3 separate regions of the Homo sapiens genome follow, and all the other regions are linked to region 1. The links are contacts of gene promoters, found by promoter capture Hi-C in blood cells and fetal thymus (Javierre and others, 2016). All regions are on one chromosome and are shown on one strand. The core of a region is centred on a gene start or on the middle of the fragment in contact, and the rest is flanking DNA. Distances in the headings are between cores, read along the strand shown. Region 1 holds the start of PLEKHH1 (pleckstrin homology, MyTH4 and FERM domain containing H1). Region 2 has its middle 35 kb from the start of RDH12. Region 3 overlaps RDH12 (retinol dehydrogenase 12).

Region 1 (2,624 bases), core at 57-2,556:
GGCTTCCTTATGCAACTTCTGGAATGTTGAAGTGGATAGCCTGAGCATTGTCCCACAAAATGGGGCTAATCTATCCCAATCCCCACGAGCTATAAAGCTGTTTGCAAGTTCAGCCATTGAAGTCCCATTGGCCCAGTTAAATTCTCACGTTTGGCCTCCTGCACTACCAGCTTTCCTTAGTGTCTGGGCTCTCAAAACTTCTACGTGAGAATGGCCTGGGGTACTTTAGTTAGAGATTCAGATTCAAACCCAGGGTGGGGGTGTTCTTCATGGTGCCTGGGATGAGTCTTCCAAGGACCATTTGGAGAAACAGGCGCTGATGGTATTTTGCTTCTGTTCAGTCCTTCACTGACAGAGAGCCTGCAGGGTTGAGGAAGAAGGCTCTGTTTTGAAGTGTGGATCCCTCCCTGCAATGGTCTCTATTTGCATCTTCTTTACTCCAGGCTCACCTAGCCAAATGTTGAGTTTTCCAACCCCTCTGGGTATGAGATTGCTTTGGGCGATCTGAGATCTGCAAATGTCTGAGAACGAGGAGCACATGGGCACGCTGATGACTGCCCTGCAAACTGCCTGGCAGCCAGGGTCCTCCTGGGCCCTCCTTTAAAATAACATATACATAAGCCGGCCTGGAGGCCCAGGCGGGAAGATCACTTGAGCTCCGGAGTTCGAGTCCAGCCTGGGCAACATAGCGAGACCAGAAAATAAGCAAGTAAGTTACTCTCTGGGCTGTCGTAACTTATTTTTTCTTTTTCTCCTGCAAATTGCAACTCAGAACATTTGGTCTGCCAGACTGAAATATGGACTTCTGTTCCAAATATCCAGACGTTACAGTTCCCACAGGTGGCCAGGAGAATGCTGGAACCTTTGGCGGAGACGGTCTGGTCTTGTCCCGCAGCCCGCGAGGGTCCCCCGCTATTTGGGGTCAAGCAGATCCCCGGGGCGCTCTGGCCACCCCTTGCGGCAGCTGGTGCGGCCTCCTCGGAGAGCTCCGGGCCGGCGCCCGGGACACCCCGCCGCCCTCCCTGCCGCCCCAGGGACGAGCCCAGCGGTGCGGAGAAGTGGGAGGCTGGAGCCTGCTGAGGTCATTTCCTGTGCCTCTCCGCGAGCTGCCTGGAGAGCTGAGCCCAGCGCTCTGCCTTTAAGGAGCGGGCGGGGAGCCGAGGGGAGGAGGGCGCCCGGCGGAGCGTTGAATGGGGCGCAGCAAGGCTCGGCCGGGCTTTGTGCAGCGAGCCCGCGGGCACCCCTCCCGCTCCAGCCTCGCCCCGCCCCGCAGCCCACGACCCCTGCTGCCGGGGAGGGGAGAACCGGCGGCAGCCCGGGACTCCGGCGAGAGCGACGCAAGGTCGGCTGCGGCGGCGGCCCGAGGGCGCCCGTGTGCCCAGTGCGCGGCGGGGACGGCCGCGAGCTCGCTGGAGGTGAGCGACCCGCGCTCCCGCCGCTGTGGTGGGCTGGGGCTGCGCCGCGGCGGAGGGCGTCAGGCTGCGCGCGGGGGACGGCCCCTCGGGCCCAGAGGACGATCCGGAGCAGGTGCCTCCCTACCTGGAAGCGAGCTCCCAGCGGCGGGGAGCGCTGGAGCGCGGGTCTGGCTTGGGAAGCCGGGCGCCCCAGGGGACTCGCGCCGCGAGGCCAGGAGGAGCCTCCCCCGGGAGTACCTGGACTTGGGGATCGGTCAGATCCAGCCGCTCCTGGGAAGGGCCCTCGGAGCGGACGTGCAGGCTGCCACCTTGCTATCGGTGCTCGCTCCCTTTCACCCCTTCCCGCACCCCTCCCCATCTCACCTCAGGTTATTTCTTCTGTGATTTCTGAGTGTTGTCTTTGGGACCCTATGGCTCAGGCTCGACTCCTAGGAGCAGGTCATTCAAGCAGAAAAGAAAACAGGTTGGGCGCCGAATGACACAGAGCATTGTGTCCTAGGAGTCTTAGCGAGGACTCGGTCACCAGGAACCAGGGGCCTTAGTGGGGGTGGCAGAGGCGGTGAAGAGCCTCATCTGGAAGGAAACTCCTCTCCTTGTGGGATTTCTGCTTGCCAGGATATCTCCTCCATAGCTTTTACTATGAATCCACCTCATAAAACTCTTCCAAGACAGAGCCTTGGTTCAGGTAAAACACTTGAAAGACCATTTAAAAAATTCAGTGGGAGAATTATCAGTTCCTTCATCAAACTGTTTGGACTGTCTTCTATGTGACAGACACTGTGTATAGGGCTAGTACCATCACTGAACGCTTTATAGAACATCGGTATTAGTGTTTCTGCATATTATTGGCCCCATTTTTCCAAAGGAGGAAGCTGGGACTCTGAAAAGTTGTGATTTAGGCCAGTTGCAGTGGCTTATGCCTGTAATCCCAGCACTTTGGGAAGCCAAGGCAGGAGGAGAGCTTGATGCCAGGAGTTCAAGACCAGCCTGGGCAACATAGGGAGACCCTGTGTCTACAAATAAATAAAAATTTAAAAATTAGCTGGGTGTGGTGGTGTGGGCCTGTAGTCCCAGCTAACTTGGGAGGCTGATGATCCTGTCTGTTAAAAAAAAAATTGTTGTGATATGCCCATGGTCACATAGCTAAAAAGTGGAAGAGCCATAACTGAAACCCAAGCCTCCTAAATTCCTAACGTATGGTTCAGTCCA
Region 2 (2,624 bases), core at 75-2,574, 200 kb after region 1:
CTAATCTAGCCTGGGGTGGAAAATCTTTTTCTTTTGGCTCAGCTGAGACTGTCCTAATTTCCTAAAAATAACACTTCAATGGGAAACTAAAGGAAAAGGAAATCAAAGAGACATATGAAACTCAAGAAACAAACAGTTTCAGAGCACCGATTTCCTAGGTGGTGACTAGCTGCCACAGATTACCTTGGGTGGCACTTGGCCCTTGTCCAACTCAACTTCGTATACAATGTTGCCATGCGTCCCAAGCTCAGGAGGATATACCTTGTGTATTTGGTCTCTTTTAGTTATAAGATGGACACTCAGTTTGAGCAAGCTTAAGTCCCAAACCATGCAATATTTTGCTCATAAACTCAAGGAAGGGTTGAAACTGGAAAGTGGGAATGGGCAGAGATGTATCTTAGAAATAACTAGAACTCAAGCGCCAAGCAACACCAGACTCCTCTCCCTCTACCATTGAAGAGTTCCTGCAGCCATTTCCTATTTTTAGAATTTAAAAAATTCCAGGTTTGGCTTGGGTCAAATGCTCACTGTGAAGCATTCAACTGTAGTTGGGTATTGGGTATTGAAACGTCTCTTCTACGGCTATCATATTCTCATATATGCTATTTTGATATCGCTATCATATTTTCATATTGTAGAAGAGGCATTTCAAATCAGTCAGAAAAACATAGACAATGTCATAAGTGGTGCTGGACAAATAACTATCCAAATGAAACATAAAGTTAGATTCTTTGCCTCACACCATGCATACAAATGAGTACTATGTGGACTAAAAGGCAAAAAAAGTTGTGAAAATATTAGAAAAAAATATAGAAGAATATCTTTATGCCCTTGGAAGAGGGATAGCATTCTTAAGACATGAAAAGCAAAAAGCATATGGGAAAAGAGGAATACATCCAAAAAGCATACCTCAAACAAAGTTCAAAGTCAAGTGATAATGGTGAACATATTTGAAATTGTTTTACGTTATGTATTCTAGAAAACGGACTTCGAGATACAGACATTTGCACACAGCAAATTTATTAGGAGGACTGTTAGGATTGGTATCTATAGGGGAGTGAGAGAAGCGGGACAGGGCAGAGGGTGAAGTTGATCTGCGATGCAGTCACACTAAAGGGTTAGGTGATCCTGTTCCACAGAGAGCTCTGGAGCTGAGCTGTCTTGAATTGAGGAAAGGAGGTTGGTCTTTAAACACCCGCAGTGACCAGTAATTGGGTGTGGGCAGCTTCCAGGGAGGGGGCATGACCTGGGTGAGGGCAAGTTCTAGATAAAAACTCAGCTGAGAGTTGGCAGCTGTGTACATTTCCAGCATCTGGGAGAATAAGTGCTTCATTTCTTTTTCTTTTCTTTTTTTTTTTTTTTTTTTCGGTAGAGACAAGGTCTCTCTCTGTTGCCCATGCTGGCCTTGAATTCCTGGGCTCAAGCAATCTTCCTGTCTTGGCCTATCAAAGTGCTGGGATTACAAGCATGAGCCACTATGCCTAGCTGTATGCTTCATTTCTAAAGGGAGTATATTAGTCTATTCTCACACTGCTATAAAGATCCTACCCAAGACCGGGTAATTTATAAAGAAAAGAGGTTTAATTGGCTCATACTTCCACATGGCCGGGGAGGCCTCAGGAAACTTACAATCATGGTGGAAGGTGAAAGGGAAGCAAGGCACATCTTCATAAGGTGGCAGGAGAGAGAGAGAGTGCAGGGGAAACTGCCACTTTTAAAACCATCAGGTCTCATGAGAACTCTCTCACTATCACGAGAAGACAATGGGGGAAACCACCCTCATGATTCAGTCAACTCCCACCAGGTCCCTCCCTCAACACATGGGGATTACAATTTGAGATGAGATTTGGGTGGGGACACAGAACCAAACCATAGGAGGGAATCTGGGTGGTGCAACACAGCATCTGCTGCAGATGTATATGTATATATGACCTATCTTATATTTACATAGATAATATGTATCACACAAAAGAGTAGTACCCATATTTTTATTCATTTTTCTTTCGACTTGGGGTCTCGCTTTATTGCCCAGGCTGATCTCAAACTCCTGGACTCAAGTGATCCTCCCACCTTGGCCTCCCAAAGTGCTGGGCTTACAGGTGTGAGTCACCACTCTCAACTTATTATCATATAAAGAACTTCTACTTCTCAATAAGAACAAGACACAGAACCCAACAGAGAACTTTGCAAAAGTTATAAATAGGAAATTTTCAGAAGAAACGCAAATGGCCAATGTACCTAAGTCAAGATATTTAACCTGACCAGTGATCAGAGAACTGCAAATTAAAACAAGATGCCATTATACCATTTTAAACCATCACATTGTCAAAAATTTGAAAGCTTAGCAAATATTGGCAAAAATATAGAAAAATAGATATTTTTATACACTGCTGCTATGAGTGGAAGAAATGGTGGAGCCATTTCTACCAGCAATTCAGCTTCTTAATATCTGCAGTAACATTAGCCTATGTATGTAAAGAGGAGGCATTGTTCATATTAGCAAAAAAATGGAAATAGCCTAAAAGTCCATCAGTTGGCGAAAAACTAATCTGTGGTATGATTATACAATCTGACATGATTATATAATAATTATATACTAATATACTTATATATACTAATATACT
Region 3 (2,624 bases), core at 81-2,580, 180 kb after region 1:
ACTCGAAGCAGGGAGGGGGCTTCCAAGTCACAGGTAGGTGAGAGAAAAACAGCTGCATTCTTTTGAGTTTCTGTTTAGCCTTTTCAAAGAGGCAACCAGATATGCATTTATCTTAATGAGGAGAGGTATGACTTTGAATAGAATGGGAGGCAGGTTTGCCCTAAACAGTTCCCAGCTTGAATTTTCCCTTTAGCTTAGTGATTTTGGGGGCCCAAAATGTTTCCTTTCACAGTAGCAACTATTAGATTTAAAAAAATTGTAATTTCCTATTTACTTTTTTCTTGTAATTAACTTCTTGCTTTACTTTTGAGACAGGGTCTTGCTCCGTCTCCCAGGCTGGAGTGCAGTGGTGTGATCACAGATCCCTGCAGCCTCCACCTTCAGGGCTCAAGTTCTCCTCCTGCCTCAGCCTCTTGAGTAGCAGGGACTGTAGGAGTGCACTCCATGGCCAGCTAATTTTTTTTTCATTTTTTTAGTAGAGCTGAGATCTGATTATGTTGCTCTTGGTCTCAAACTCCTTGCCTCAATAAATCCTCCTGCCTTGGCCTCCCAAAATGCTGGGATTACAGGTGTGAGCCTCTGTGCCCAGCTTTGTTTTATTTTTGTACCTAATATTTACTCATAGTTTTATATTCTTTTTATTAAAAAGAGTTCCCTAGCCTTTCAGAAGGAACTGCCGTCTTCCAGTTATTCTCCAAAATGAGGAACACTAAGGGAAAGAGGAGGGACACCAATATATGTTCTCTAGGCCTTTTAGAAAACATGGAGTTGTTCCTTTGGCCACAACCATGCAAATCTACAAGAAAGGTTATGTTGCAGACATCAAGGGAATGGGAACTGTTCAAAAATGCCCCACACATGTTATCATGGTATTAGGGACTGAAATGGGATATAAGTTGAAAAGAGACTAAGGGATTTTTGAAATTAAATGTTAGGCAATTTTTAAAAATAAAAGAGGGCCAATAAGCCCAGGCCTTACACCTGCACTGTGGTGAGGTGCTCAAGATTGCAGAGGCAAACCTGTGCAAAGCTTCTGCCAACTCAAGGCATTCACTGAATGCCCCACACATGTTACCACGGCAAAACTGGAAGAGCCTATCAACAGTGTTCTTGGACACAAACAAATTAAAGGCAAGATTCTTGCTGAGAGAATTAATGTGTTTATTGAGCATATTAAGCAGTCTAAGGGCCAAGATAACTTCCTGAAGCATGTAAAGGAAAAGGATCAGAAAAAGAAGGAAGCAAAAGAGAAAAGTACCTGAAGTGCCAGCCTTCTCCACTTTGTGAAGCTCACTTTGTGAGAACCAATGGAAAGAAGCCTAAGTTGCTTGGAACCTATTCCCTACGAATTCATAGCATAATAGCCGTTAAAAAATAAAAGGGGGGGAGCCCCCTAAATTGAATAGACTTCAGGCCCTACAATATCCAGATCTACTTCTGATGATGTTTTATTTCATAAGCTGGGCAGTAAGTCATGCTGAGTATTCTTTAAATGATTCTCTATATTATTTGGTTTACTCCAAACAGAAAATAGCAAAACATTTTGTCTAAGAGGCATTTCTTTATCTGTCCTTGTCCTGATGTTGGATGCCTATGACTTCACCGATTGCTGTAAGCCCTTGAGTTGGCAGAAGCTTTGCACAGCTTTGCCCCCTGCCATCCTGAGCACCTCACCACAGTGCAGGCGTAAGGCCTGGGCTTATTGGCCCTCTTTTATTTAAAAAAATTTCCCAACATTTAATTGCAAAAATCCCTTAGTTTCATTTCTACTTTACTCTATTTCAGTCCCCAATGCCAAGTTCGTTCTTTTTGTAAGTATCTTCTGAAGGAGTGACTCACCATTTACTTCTATTGGAATCCAAATTTTGCAATACTCACGAAGTTGCAAATAATTAAATTAGGATATCTTAGAATCTCATAACCAGGGAGAGATTACTGTAAACTCAACCATATTCACCACTATTTATTGCATGTCTGCTTCATGCAAACCTTGGTTCCATGTGCTGGGGGAACACAAATGTAGAGCTTATTTCTGTCCCTGAGCTGATGAGATAAGAAGTTGCCTAGAGGCCGGGGGCAGTGGCTTACGCCTGTAATCCCAGCACTTTGGGAGGCCGAGGCGGGCGGATCACGAGGTCAAGAGATAGAGACCATCCTGGCTAACATGGTGAAACCCCGTCTCTACTAAAAATACAAAAAAAATTAGCCGGGGGTGGTAGCCGGTGCCTGTAGTCCCAGCTACTCTGGAGACTGAGGCAGGAGAATGGCGTGAACCTGGGAGGCGGAGCTTGCAGTGGGCCGAGATCACGCCACTGCACTCCAGCCTGGACGACAGAGTGAGACTCCGTCTCAAAAAAAAAAAAAAGAAAAGAAAAAAGAAATTGCCTAACTAAGTTATAAGTCAAACCGCTGTGACTGCTGTACAGAAAAGGCAAATATAGTGTATGGGAGCAAGAGAAGTGAATGATTGATTAGGATAGGTGAAAGCTGCAGAGAGGAGATATATTTAAGTTGGACCTTAAACACAATAAAAGATTTCTTCAGCTGAAAAAAAATTCCATTTATGTTAGAAAGTTTTTAAAAAAGTGAATATGGCAATTTATAAAAAATTTTCATTTTGAAAT

Evidence for each region. Contacts are between HindIII fragments. The CHiCAGO score rates a contact against its expected background, and 5 or more counts as called.
Region 2: a fragment that was not itself captured here is called in contact with the fragment with the promoter of PLEKHH1 in region 1 in 3 of 17 cell types (M0 macrophages, M2 macrophages and M1 macrophages); the score reaches 6.3 in M0 macrophages.
Region 3: a fragment that was not itself captured here is called in contact with the fragment with the promoter of PLEKHH1 in region 1 in 3 of 17 cell types (M1 macrophages, M0 macrophages and M2 macrophages); the score reaches 9.0 in M1 macrophages.

The regions. Positions count from the first base shown.
Region 1 is chr14:67,531,984-67,534,607 of GRCh38, forward strand. PLEKHH1 (pleckstrin homology, MyTH4 and FERM domain containing H1) reads left to right here and starts at 1,307. Exons shown (of 29, transcript NM_020715.3): 1 at 1,307-1,415. It also overlaps a transcript of GPHN not described here and a transcript of TMEM229B not described here. RefSeq lists a silencer at 931-1,400. The HindIII fragment of the contact is 32,076 bases long and covers 1-2,624 here.
Region 2 is chr14:67,735,742-67,738,365 of GRCh38, forward strand. It overlaps a transcript of ZFYVE26 not described here. Among named protein-coding and RNA genes, the nearest start is that of RDH12, 35 kb to the left of the region's middle. The HindIII fragment of the contact is 2,027 bases long and covers 312-2,338 here.
Region 3 is chr14:67,713,846-67,716,469 of GRCh38, forward strand. All of the region lies in intron 1 of RDH12 (retinol dehydrogenase 12), which reads left to right. It also overlaps a transcript of GPHN not described here and the pseudogene RPL21P9. Among named protein-coding and RNA genes, the nearest start is that of RDH12, 13 kb to the left of the region's middle. The HindIII fragment of the contact is 604 bases long and covers 1,029-1,632 here.